2 separate regions of the Homo sapiens genome follow, and region 2 is linked to region 1. The links are contacts of gene promoters, found by promoter capture Hi-C in blood cells and fetal thymus (Javierre and others, 2016). All regions are on one chromosome and are shown on one strand. Each heading gives the region's core, a stretch centred on a gene start or on the middle of the fragment in contact. The rest is flanking DNA. Distances are from core to core; before and after follow the strand shown.

What was found. The method cuts DNA at HindIII sites, captures the fragments that hold promoters and counts their contacts. A CHiCAGO score of 5 or more calls a contact.
Region 2: a contact is called between a fragment that was not itself captured here and the fragment with the promoter of RPE in region 1, in 4 of 17 cell types (M0 macrophages, M2 macrophages, M1 macrophages and 1 more). The highest score is 14.1, in M0 macrophages.

The regions. Positions count from the first base shown.
Region 1 is chr2:209,998,882-210,005,674 of GRCh38, reverse strand. It overlaps RPE (ribulose-5-phosphate-3-epimerase), which reads right to left and starts at 3,037. Exons shown (of 6, transcript NM_199229.3): 1 at 2,892-3,037. The coding sequence starts at 3,013. It overlaps UNC80 (unc-80 subunit of NALCN channel complex), which reads right to left. Exons shown (of 65, transcript NM_001371986.1): 65 at 6,379-6,793. RefSeq lists enhancers at 2,769-2,938, 2,979-3,028. The HindIII fragment of the contact is 5,690 bases long and covers 1,013-6,702 here.
Region 2 is chr2:208,388,513-208,395,305 of GRCh38, reverse strand. It overlaps a transcript of PTH2R not described here. Among named protein-coding and RNA genes, the nearest start is that of PTH2R, 15 kb to the left of the region's middle. The HindIII fragment of the contact is 1,270 bases long and covers 3,775-5,044 here.

The DNA of each region.
Region 1 (6,793 bases), core at 1,788-4,287:
GAGGGCCCAGTGCTAGCAAGTCTTTGAACTGTTTTTTTTTTTCCCCCAAAAGTCAGAAATGCAGTATTAATGTGAAATCGTCCCAGTTTTAAATCCTGGTAGCGAATTTAGAAATTAATTCTTTGCTCTGTTCCCATGGTTAGGATGAACACATTCTAGTCACTGTCCTGTCATGATGCATTTATGTGTTTTCTAGGGTTTTTTTCCCCCAGAGAATCCACTTGTCCTTTGTTTCACATATCCAGTCATGCTAGTGCTCCACCTTCCACAGTATTCCCCAGACTGGTTTCTGACTTTCTAAATGAAGAAATTCAGTTGTAATCAGGGGAGAAATTGGAGGTCTTAGTGGGGAGGAGACTAGAAAACAATAAGCACATCCAAAGTGTAATGTTGGATGAGATTTTTAAAAGGGGCCAGGAAAAAAAAAACACGAAGGCAGTCCTGGGAGGGAAGGGACATTGTGGCTGGCCACATTTCAAAAAGGAGTCCACAGCCCACTTTCATAGCCCTAGCCTAGTAGACACCACAGCACATCACGTAGGGGCACTGGCACCAACTCTGCCAGGCTCTGCTGAATCTGGTGAGACATCAGGGAAGAAGCTGAATCTCCCTACACTGGTTTCCTCCTTTGCAAAAGGGGAATAGAAACAGCTCTTAACTCAGAAAGTAGAGAAGATTAAAAGGGAAATAATTTTAAAATTGTGTATGCAGAATTCAGTTTTTCCAAACCAAAGTATCTCCTGGCAAAGGGGAAGAGGAATCAATAAAAAACAAATACTTCATTTTTTATTTTTTTGTTCCCAAAACTCTGATCCATGGTAAATACTTTGCCTTACTGAGCTCAGTCTGCCATAGAGCTGCAAGGGGACAAAAGTGACTTCTGAGAGACTTCTCCTATTATGATTAAGCTATTCATTCATTCGGCCAACAATAACTAAGCACCTTATGGTGCTTTTCCAGCAAAGAATATATAGGTGAGCAAAAAGAAGATAAACTTGGCTTTCAGGAAGCTTATAGGGTAGCAGGAGAGACATGAAATAAGTTAACAAAAATAAGTATACAGTTAACAGAAATAAATACACAAATTATTAGTTGCTTTTTTGAGGCCAAACAATGTCTTAGTCATTCCCTGTAAGCCTAGGAACCACAGAAAGCATTTCATTTGAGACAACACAAGCTGTTGCATTGCTTCCAACCCTGGCTCCACCATTTCCTAGTTATGAGACCACTGGCAGATGACTTAACCTCTCTGTGCCCAATTCCTCGCTGTCAAATGCTGGTGGTAATAACACCACCAATTTCAAACGGTTGTTTGAGTTAATTCACAAAAAAACTCCAGAACAGAAACAGTCAAGTGCTCATAAACATTGCTACTATGGTTATCATTAATAATCCTGACTGGTGAACCGAAACAATTACTTTCCCCAACCATTAACTTACTCAAACATAGTTTAATTAAAACCAAATTGCTCAAATAGACTCACAAATATACACATAGCTGTTCCATCCTGTGACCCTCTAGGTATTTTCTCAGGCACAAAAATGTAGCTACTTACCTTTGAGGTAGACACTCAGGGTATTATTACCTGTGACAGTTTAGGGCTTTCAAGCAAAGATGTCAAAAATAAAGTATATAAGTATAATTACATATAATGGCCAATTAAAAGCCAACCTTTGTGAGAGGTAATATTTACTAAACTTTTTACACATTTGGCCTATTATTTTTAGTACTCTATGGTCAAAGTTTTGTCATTATCAGTTGGGTGGACTCCTAAGGTAACTGGGTAAAATGCCAAAGAGAAACAATACATTTAACCACATAGAGCAATGGAAGATAAAACTCTTCAAAGCCAGATTAACATTAAAAAGAAAAGGAAATCATCACCTTTAGAAAATAACACCAATTTGCAAACTGAATGAGGGAACACAGGGTTTTTACCTATTTAAAATAAATTTATTTTTCCATCCCCACTCAAGATAATGGTATTTATGATTTTTATAGTCAGTTAACAGTGGGGCTCAGAGAACTACTTGGCAAACCTAGGAAGAGCCAAGTTGCAAGTCTGTCACAATCTTCTGTAATCTTGAGGGAGTCTTACTGCTTTCTCTGGGGTTGTTTCCTCATTCTGTAACCAACTTCAGAAACTAATATCCTGACTCCAAACAATATTATGTGCTGTAACTACGGTGCTTAAAAATTACTTACAAAAAACTGACCTCCCTGAAGAGCAGGGTGCCTGAAGAGAAAATAGACAGGAAAATCAGAATTGTAATAATGATGTAATTAACAATTATAGAGAACTTAATATACGCCAGGCACTGTAAACTTCTCATGTACTCGCTCATTTCATCTTCCAAGATGCCTAAGCGGTAGGTTCTGTTAGTAGTTCCATTTTTCAAATTATGAAACTGAAGCTCAATGAGGTTAGTGGCTTGTCCAAGGTAACCCAGCAAGTGGCAGAACTCGGGAACCTAACCGCAGGTGCCAACTTAAATCGTTAGAGAAGTCTGTTTCCCCAGCTTTGCCACTAACTAGCTATATGAGCTTGGGCAAGTCATGCTTCTCCCCTTGGGCCTCAGTTTCTCTAGCTGAAAGTGAAGAAATGTCCTAAAGATTTAGGTCGCTTCCGGGTCCTAAGTGATGGAAGACCACACGTTACGTGGGGGGAGGGGAGGAACTGAGGTTTGGGACCCGGCCGCAACCCAGGATACCGCGTCGGTTCTGCTCCTGCTAGAGCCTCCAGGGCTCCTACCCCACACCCCTTCTAGCATCGCGTTCAGAGTGAGGCGCTCGGTGGTACAGGGACGCGGTACATCCAACAAGCAGTCAATAAAGGTGCACTGATCCGCCCCGCCGCGCGGCAAGCCCGACCGGAGCCCGGAGGAGTTACCCGTCCATTACGTCCAGGTGCAGATAATCGGCCCCAGAGTCTAGCATCCGGAGGCACTCGGCCCCTAAATTGGCCAGGTCGCTGTTGAGGATGGACGGGCCAATCTTGCAGCCCGACGCCATACCGCTGGCTCCCAAAAGCAAGTTACCCACGAGTCCCCGGCAAGGCTAGAGCGTCACCCCGATTGGGCGCGCAGTTTTGGCCCCGCCCCTTCTCCGTACAGGCTTCCGGATTCTACCGGAAGCAGCCACTCTGCGGTGAGGAAGTCCCGCCTCCTCCTGGGGTGGGGCGCTGTCAGCCGTCCGCCTGGGGCGGGGCGGGGCACACGGGCCTCGTACACCTGATTTTGACCTTCCTTCTTGTGCTGTTTGGATCTTAACGTCCTCGCAGTACTCAAGGCGTTTCTTAACCTTTTTTCACTTTGCTTCTCCTGCAGTTCCCTCTCCTCGGCTCTTGACTTAACATCACTTTTTGTTTCTCCACCCTTTGCATATGCCTTTCTTTCCTCTCCAGCGCCTATGCTGGCCCTTTAAAACAACAATTAAAAACCTTTCTTCCTCGTATTTCTCCTAGAGCTCTTCTTTTGAGCTGGAGGAACCCTGGCTCTGCCAGATACTAGCTGGGTGACCTGGCAAATCACTTCTTAACTTCGGTTTTCTCATCTGTAAAGACAGTGCCCAGCTTTAGGGTTGTATTAAATGAGTGAAGCCAGGTAATGCGCCCAGCAGGATGCCTGGTGCTCAGTACAAAATGGTAGTTATTATTATATTACCCTCTTTTTCTGCCTTTGCAGTTCCTCCTTACCTTTTTTGTTTTTCCCTCTGTTGAGGCTCAGAAAATGATAGCCCAAAGTGAAGGCCTCAGACGCAACAGTGTTTCTCTGACTTCCTGCCCTGCTCTCTTCTCAGTCTCATTCTAGGAGGCAGGTCATAGAAACTGGAGCCCATCTTCCCTAAGAAGAGTCATTGAAACCGGAACCCCCTTTCCCTGAAGCCAGACACAAAACCCAAAAGCATTACTCTAACTTTCCTCCACCTTTCTGTGTAAAAACTGGCCATAAATTATTTGACCCATCTCAACTGTAGGTTATAAAACTCCTCTTCTAGAGAAGGTTCTATCCCATATCCAGGAGGAGGGAATGCTGCACAGAGAGGCCAGGAATCTAAACTAGACTGGCCAAGGCCAGGTCAGTCTATTAGCATTAGATCGCCTATTTTGTCCAATCGTATTTCTACATGGCTGTCTATACTTTGTTGAACCTAAGTATAAAAATGGGTAATCACCCCTGTACCTTTGGGTCTTCATTCTGAAGGCTCCTGTGTCAGGTAAAACTATAATCAAATAAGTTTTTATGCCTTTTCTCCTGTTAATCTTCTTTCTGTCAGTGATTTTCAGCAAACCTTTGGAGGGTGAAGGGAAAGTTTTCCCTTGGCCCCTACACCTCTCCAATGCTCATTCACAAATTGTGATAGGTTTGTGTGCTGTTCACACACAGTTCAGAAATGGATGAGTATCCTGATGCTAAATGTGCCTAGGGTCAGGAAAAGAGACAGAAGTAAAACCACTTGGCGGGGATAAATGGACTTAGCAAGAGCAATCCTTAAGGGGTCAGAATAGAGCACTTGTACTCTGTGTAAAAGACGGAAGTGGTAACTTGGACTGAGAGGTGACAGCGTGCTGGCAGCCCTCGCTCACTCTCGGTGCCTTCTTGGCCTTGGCACCCACTCTGGCCGCGCTTGAGGAGCCTTTCAGCCCACCGCTGCACTGTGGGAGTCCGTCTGGGCTGGCCAAGGCCGGAGCTGGCTCCCTCAGCTTGTGGGGAGGTATGCAGGGAGAGGCACAGGCGGGAACTGGGACTGCAAGGCACTTGTGGGCCAGCGCGAGTTCGAGGTGGGCGTGGGCTCTGCGGCCCCGCACTTGGGTGGGCCGGCTGGCCTGCTGGCCCCGGGCAGTGAGGGGCTTAGCACCTGGGCCAGCAGCTGCTGTGCTGGATTTCTTGCCAGGCCTTAGCTGCCTCCCTCTACGGGGCAGGGCTCGGGACCTGCAGCCCACCATGCCTGAGCCTCCCCTCCATGCCGTGGGCTCCTGCGCGCCCAGCGTCCCTGAGGAGCGCCGCCCCCTGCTCCACAGCACCCAGTCCCATCGACCGCCCAAGGGCTGAGGAGTGCCGGCGCACAGTAGGGGACTGGCAGGTAGCTCCACCTGCCGCCCCAGTATGGGATCCACTGGGTGAAGCCAGCTGGGCTCCTGAGTCTGGTGGGGACTTGGAGAATCTTTATGTCTAGCTGAGGGATTGTAAATACACCAATCAGCACTCTGTATCTAGCTCAAGGTTTGTAAACACACCAATCAGCACCCTGTGTCTAGCTCAGGGTTTGTGAATGCACCAATGGGCACTCTGTATCTAGTTAATCTGGCAGGGACTTGGAGAATCTTTATGTCTAGCTAAGGGATTGTGAATGCACCAATTGGCACTCTGTATCTAGCTCAAGGTTTGTAAATGCACCAATCAGCACTCTGTGTCTAGCTCAGGGTTTGTAAATACACCAATGGACACTCTGTATCTAGCTAATCTAGTAGGAGAACTTTTGTGTCTAGCTCAGGGATTGTAAACGCACCAGTCAGCACCCTGTCAAAACGGACCAATCGGCTCTCTGTAAAATGGACCAATCAGCAGGGTGTGGGTGGGGCCAGATAAGAGAAGAAAAGGCTGCCTGAGCCAGCAGTGGCAACCGGCTTGGGTCCCCTTCTGAGCTGTGGTATGTTTGTTCTTTTGCTCTTTGCACTAAATCTTGCTACTGCTCACCTTTGGGTCCACACTGCCTTTATGAGCTATAACATTCACCACAAAGGTTTGCAGCTTCACTCCTGAAGCCAGCGAGACCACGAACCCACTGGGAGGAATGAACAACTCCAGACGCACCGCCTTAAGAGCTGTAACACTCACCGCGAAGGTCTGCAGCTTCACTCCTGAAGCCAGCGAGACCACGAACCCACCAGAAGGAAGAAACTCCAAACACATCTGAACATCAGAAGGAACAAACTCCGGATACGCTGCCTTTAAGAACTGTAACACTCACCGCAAGGGTCCGTGGCTTCATTCTTGAAGTCATTGAGACCAAGAACCCACCAATTCCTGACACAGGACCACGTATTTCTGGCCACATTGTGAGGGCAACCAGATCTTTAACAATCCCACTGGGAAATCTACCAGTTATTCCAGTAGATGAAAGCCTGGGCAGAGAAGTTTATTTTTATTTTTTAAAGGTAGATTTGCAAAGCATGAGTAGAGTAGAGCTCAGTTTGTGGGGAGGGGTCACGGAGAGTGTATTGGAGGTGTCTAATTGGATGGTGACCTCAGGCCAGACTGGGGAGGTTGAGGATGGACAGCAAGGCATTAACAAAGGCACACCCCAGGAATCCAAAATGAACATCTTCCTGAAGGAGTCAAGCTATTACCTACATTAAGAAATGAAACTTAGGCATCTTTAATGTTTTTAGATTTATTTTATCATATGTGCATACCTAAACACAGAAGTCTTAATATCTTTCATAAATATCTTTCATAAACATTTCAGTATTTATTCATATGCATTTTTTCCATGTTCTTTGGTCATTCAGTACTCATAATAGACTTCATAGTTATCTGAGGGAAGTCGGCTGTGTAGTCAATTTTTTGTTTTAACCTATAAAATGGCTAATAAAGGATTTTCATCCTGTGGTCACAGTGACAATTCAAAGATTTATGGAGGTAAATTGATCTGTAATCCTAAATGATCATAAAATAATATCAGTAAATTTGTCTTAAGCTTTTCCAAATACATTCTGCCCTCAACTTGTTTTTATTCTCCTGAGTGTCAAATCAAAATTTGTTTCTGAAATGCTGCAGTTGAGACCCACTA
Region 2 (6,793 bases), core at 3,160-5,659, 1.6 Mb after region 1:
GGAGGCTGAGGCGGGTGGATCATGAGGTCAGGAGATCGAGACCATCCTGGTTAACATGGTGAAACCCCGTCTCTACTAAAAATACAAAAAATTAGCCAGGCATGGTGGCGGGCGCATGTAGTCCCAGCTACTGCGGAGGCTGAGGCAGGAGAATGGCTTGAACCTGGGAGGTGGAGCTTGCAGTGAGCTGAGATCGCGCCACTGCACTCCAGCCTGGGCAACAGAGCAAGACTCCATCTCAAAAAAAAAAATAAAAAAGAAAAGAAATCAGACTCTAGGCCTCTTCTGGGAACAGGGAAGTTCTGCCTTTAGCAGTTAGGAGTAAGATGTCTTCCGCAGCCAGATTTTAGTCTCGTTATTGTCCCATCAGCAGCAAAATGGCCATTCAGTTCCTGCGTTCCTTTAAGCCACCTATTCTGTCTCTGATTAAGACAGTACTTAATAAGTACTTAATAATAGTATTAATTTTAATTACTTAAATAATTTAATTCCTTAAATAAAATTAATAATTTTAAGTCCAGAAGTTAACGGGAACCATTTTTCTAAGGGTAAATGCTTTAGCATGGGCCATAATAACAGGATATAGAGTTCAATCTAGCACGCCCCCTCCCTTAAAGGGGCCTTGCTCAATTACGTAGTTTTTCTTGAGATCCATTTTTTTAGGGAGGCACACAGGTCACACAAGTCTAGGAGGTCAAAAGGAAATAAAAGGCAGAGGACTAAGGCTGCTTAGGGAAGCGTGACTAGGGCCAAAAGTCTAGTTTCTCTGGTGCCATGGCTTAGAGGGTCATGCCTGCAGTCATGGGTGTCCCATTCAAATGGGTGCCAGGATCCAGGAACCAGGGAGAGAAAATAATTGGTGGGGGGGACACCCCCTACTGTTTTCTTCTCTATCCTGGATCACATACTGAAAGGAAGCAGACTAAAAGAACACTTTTATTCTCACTTCTCTTTCTAGATGAGTAACAGATTGTCTTCAACATGCACCCCCCTGGGGTATATTTTAAAGCACTGGGACTCCTTCGGCCCTGAGACTTTGAAGAAAAAGCACTTCATATTCTATTGCACAAGGGCATGCCCTTCTTACTATCTTCGGGACAGGCAAACCTGGCCTGCTAGTGGGGAGCCTTGATTTTAGTATTATCCAAAAGTTAAAACTTTTCTGCAAACAGAAGGGCAAATGGACTGAGGCTGCCTATGTACAGGCTTTCTTTGCCCCTCAAGACAACTCAGACCTTTACAAGTTCTGTACAATCAACCCAGTTCTTTTAGCAGCCACAACAGGCAAGCCCACAGGGAATAGTTCCCCAGAGCTAAAGCAGGTTCCAGAGGAGTAATCCGAGACAGCTATTGAATGTCCCAACCCTTCCAGTCCCCTTCCAATCATACCATCCACTCCTCCAGCTCTACCAGCTCCAGTATATCCTACTCTCCCCCCTTCACTCTTACCTCTGCAGGAAATGCCTGATGGGAGTGGTGCCATAAGGGTTCAAGTTCCCTTCTCATTACAGGATCTTAAGCAAATAAAGGGAGACTTAGGCCAATTTTCTGATGACCCCTGTAGGTATATAGAAATTTTCCAAAATTTAACTCAGGTGTTTGATCTCACACGGAGGGATGTTATGTTGCTGCTAAGTCAGACCCTCACTGCAGCTGAAAAGCAGACAGTTCTGCAGGCAGCAGAAAAATACGGAGATGAGCAACATGTCTCCTATAGCAGACCCAGGAGAAAAAGAGGAGAGAGGGAAGGTGAGGAAGAGGTGGAAACTCCATTCCACTAGGAAGGGAAGCAGTTCCAGTAGACAACCCTGATTGGAATCCCAATAACTCAGGAGATGAATGGAAAAGGAAGCCCTTTTTCTAATATAGAAGGCCTATGGAAGACCAGGGCCAACCCTTTCAATTACTCTAAACTGTCCATGCTAGACCAAAGATGAGATGAGAATTCCACAGCCTTTATGGAAAGGCTGAAAAAGGCACTAATAAAACACACCTCTTTATCCCCTGATTCAGTTGAGGGACAGCTCATCCTGAAGGACAAGTTTATCACACAGGCATCTCCCCACATTAGAAGGAAGCTACAGAAGCAAGTTGTAGGACCAGAGAGCACCCTAGAAAACCTCCTGAGAATAGCCACTTTAGTCTTTTACAATAGGGATCAGGAGGAGGCCTGAGAAAAGGAGAGGAAATACAAGAGAACAGAGGCTCTAGTAGCAGCGTTGCAAGCTTGTAAAGTCCAGAATCCCCAAGGTGCATCCACTAGGTGTTATCAATGTGGCCAGCCAGGGCATTTTAAGAAGGAATGCCCAGACAGCAATACGAACCTTCCTTGACCCTGTCCAGCCTGTGGTGGAAACTGCTGAAGACAGGTCTTTCCCTGGAGGCAGAGGTCACTGGGTTCAGAACCAGTCTCAGAGATGGTCCAGCAGGATTGACAGGTCCCGGGGCTCAAACCCCCATTCCAGCGGCTCAGTCTGCCATTACAGCACAAGAGCCCCGGGTGATTCTGAAAATTGAAGGAAGGAAGGTAGATCTTCTGGGTACTGGAGCCAGTCTCTCTTCTCCTCTGTAATCCAGGCCTTCCCTCTTCCTTTAGTATGACTGTAAGAGGCGTCTCAGGAAAAACTCTAACCTGATATTTACCTTTAACCCGTAGCTGCAGGTTGGGGGCTTACTATTTACATATGCCTTTCTAATCAGGCCTAAAAGTCCCACTCCTTTATTAGGTAGAGATATTCTAGCTCGCATGGGAGCCAGTATCCTTATAGCCCCAGGACAAACTCTTTGTCTCCCCCTGATGGAAGTTAACATTAATCCAGAAGTGTGAGCAACTCAAGGAAGAATAGGTTGAGCTATAACTGCTAGGCCCATCCAAATCTATCTTAAGGATCCCACTTCTTTTCCTAACCAGAGAGAGTATCCCTTAAGGCCAGAGGCTAGGAAAGGGCTAGAAGCCATTATTAATAACCTAAAGATTAGAGGCCTCCTCAAACCCTGTAATAGCCCCTGCAACACCCCAATATTAGGAGTGCAGAAACCCAATGGGGAATGAAGAATAGTTCAGGACCTTCACCTCATTAATAAAGCTGTAGTTCCAATCCATCCAGTGGTCCCTAATCCCTATATCCTGTTAACTCAAATACCTGAGGGAACTAAATGGTTTGCAGTCCTAGATTTGAAAGATGTCTTTTTCTGCATACTGTTACATCCCGACTCTCAATACCTGTTTGCATTTGAAGATCCCTCCGGCCAGACCACCCAGTTAACATGGATGGTTTTCCCTTAGGGATTTTGAGATAGTCTTCGTCTGTTTGGACAGGCACTGTCACCAGACCTCTCTGAGTTCTCTCATACTCAAGTTAGGGTCTTGCAGTATGTGGATTATATACTGCTCTGTGCCCCAACTGAGGAAGCTTCTCAGGAAGGTACTGAAGCTCTTCTCAACTTCTTATCTAGCAGAGGATATAAGGTTTCAAAACCCAAGGCCCAGCTCTGCAGAACCTTAGTGAAGTACCTAGGCTTAGTGTTGTCTGAGGGGACCAGAGCATTAGGGAAAGAGCGGATTAAGCCTATCTCCACCTTCTCCCTCCCCAAAACTCTCAAGCAACTAAGAGTATTTGGGGGCATTACAGGATTTTGTAAACTGTGGATACCTGGATATGGTGAAATAGCCCATCCATTACATAACGTCATAAAAAAACTCAGGGAGCTAAAACTCATCTTTTAACCTGGAAACCTGAAGTTCAAAAGGCCTTTGACAAGCTAAAGCAAGCTTTGCTCAAAGCAGCAGCTCTCAGCCTTCCTGTAGGGGAGTCCTTCAATCTGTATGTATCAGAAAGAAAGGGGATGGCCCTGGAAGTTTTAACACAGGCCCAAGGACCAGCTCAACAGCCAGTGGGTTATCTATCAAGAGACACCTCAGAAAATTATCCCAAGAAACTCACCTTCCTTGGGTCACTTTTCTTCCTATGGCCTTACTAGAAATAAAAAATACACCTTCAAAATTAGGTCTTAGCCCTTTTAAGATGCTGTATGGATGGCCTTTCCTTACCAATGATTTTCTATTAAATCGAGAAACGTCTAAGCTAGTTAAGCATGTAACTTCTCTGGCTCACTTCCAATTAGCACAATTCATGAAAGCCCAACCCCAGGAAATTGGACCACTCTATTTAACCCAGGAGATTTGGTACAGGTGAAGGCTCTGCTTTCCCTGCCTCCCTCCCTAAGCCCAAGCTGGGAAGGGCCTTACACCGTTCTTCTTTCAACTCCCTCAGGAATAAAAGTCATAGGAATCAAATTCTGGATACATCACACTCGAGTCAAAGCCTTGGAGAGCTAAGGGACCAAAGCCCAAAGGAATGACCTGAATATCTGTGAAAAAATAGATCTTAAGCTGAAAATCACAAAAGATAAGTAACTGAGTAAGAACTACTCATCGTACTCAGTCTCACCCCTACCTCATCAAATACTTTTTGTCATTTCTACCTCTCCCTTTGAGCCAAATATTAAAACTTCTTTTTGATGGAAATTATTTACTATGCCACCCTTGCAGAAATTGTTATACTCACTCTACTATTTGCAATAGAACTATATACTGTAGCACCCTCAGGGTGGAAAATCAGACAGAGAATCTCAATTACTGTAGCATTTTGCTTAATTATTATCCTGATAGCAGGAATAATGGTTACTAACAGAAAATAAACATGAGTGTTTTACTATCACTAAGTCTATTAGGACTTTTTATCGGACTTAGTAATACATCACACCCTTTAGCTCCTACAATATCCACCATGGCCCATTTGTACAAGACTAATTGTTGGGTCTGTCCTAAGTAGTTCACTCAATTCAACGACACTGAGGAATCTTACAGTGACCCGGAACTCATCGTCTTGGGGTTCCCTTTATTGGCTTTACCTTTAACCTTTCAAGACATATCAGGCATAAATGGGACATGGTATGGGAGCACTTTCAACTGGGTGACTAACTCCTCTCAGGAGAACATTCCACCCCCAGTGGCAAAGAACACTCTCTCCAAACATAAGCTTCACACCCTCAGGCTGGGAAAAATTGACCAAGTAATAGCAAATGTCTCCCTCTGCTTTAAAAGTAGCGGGAAAGGACCACACTTGGGAGATCTCAGATATTGTAACATCACACTTGTAATTGCTGACAGTTCAAAAATTTGAGGAGAAGGGTGCAACAAGGGTCATCTAAAAGGATCAGAAGCTCTAGTGGGGGGCTTTCAGAATCGCCTCTCCTGGTTGGAAGTCCCAATGGGAGTGGCATGCTCTAAATAACCATCTTGACTATAATGTAAAAAATCACACATGGGCCTCTCCAAACATGCTCCCTCATGGAACTCGAGACCCTTCTATAACGTTTGCTAATAGTAGCAGCTTACTTTCCAACAAACATCCATTAAACACCTACTATGTGCCAGATGTTTGTCTAGGTTGTAGTAAAACAGTAGTTTAGAAAACAAACAACCCCCCCACCCCCGCAAAAAAAGAAAAAGCGGAAAAGAAATCTATCTTCAAAGATCTTTAGTTTTTGCTCATTAATTTGTGATAAAAATTAAACATTTGTGAGAAAACATCACAAATGTGTGATAAAACATCAATGTTTGGCACACTATGTTAAAGGTAATGAAAGTATCAGCTTGATCATGATTCATTACTTCCCCTCATGGGTCATACATAGCCTAGACATAGGGAAGGTACTATTCCAGTGTCTACCCATTGAAAACAACTGGCAAACTAACGTGCGCTAACTTCCATTTATAGGCTAGAAATTAAAAGATTCATTTAATGATTTGTCCTCCAGTGCTTCTGTTATCTTTTGGTGTTTATGAGTTAATAAGCTGCTATGGTGTCTGCAAATATAACTGGCAGTAATCCACAATTGATCGAGTTAATTAAGCATAACAATTGTGACGAGCTAAGACTAATAAGAAGGAAAAATTTTAATGAAATGATATATAAAGCCATAGAGCTGCACCAAGGAGTATAGACAATCTGGAAAGTTTTCCTCAATAGATTGTGTGTGTGTGTGTGTGTGTGTGTGTGTGTGTGTGTGTGTATGCATTTCCTTTTAATGTATCATCATTCTGTAAAATATGGCATATTCCTAATGTTCAGAGTAATGGAAAATATGTTGTTAGAAACTTAGTTTTTTCCTGTAGCTTGACTGTGTAATACTCTCTGATGCTTAAATTCAGATATAATGAAAACATCTTCACAATATGAACACCCTCTTATTTCTAATTAGAATCTCTTGATAATAAGAAGGGGCACTGATGCTGATGCTAAGGTTACATTGTTTTCTACGTATGTGCTATGCTTCGATGAGTCCTGCTACAGGATATTTGCTGCTTACATCCATAAGTGCTTACTGAGTGCCAGACCCTGGATTAGTATTCTCTCCCCTGCTGTAAGCGCTAGCTAAAAATAGCCTTTAAACTTCCTAGGGATAGAATTATAATCAAACATCAGGAGAAGCAGAAGTTCAAGGATATGGGCAGTGAATTTGCATGTCTCATATCCTAGTAGTTTGGCCATAGTCTTTGACAGTTTTCTTTCTAAAGTTGTATTTATTTCCCCAGTTCCACTCAACCTTACAGTGATTCTTATCTCAACATGTCTATTCTAGAGTAATCACTATTACACTGTGTTTCAAACCACACAACTCATAAAGACATATTTTATGCAAAGATAGAAGGCTTCAGGGGTTACAATATCTCTTTACCAACACAGAGTATAAGGATAGGGAGATAAATATTACCTAATAGGTTATT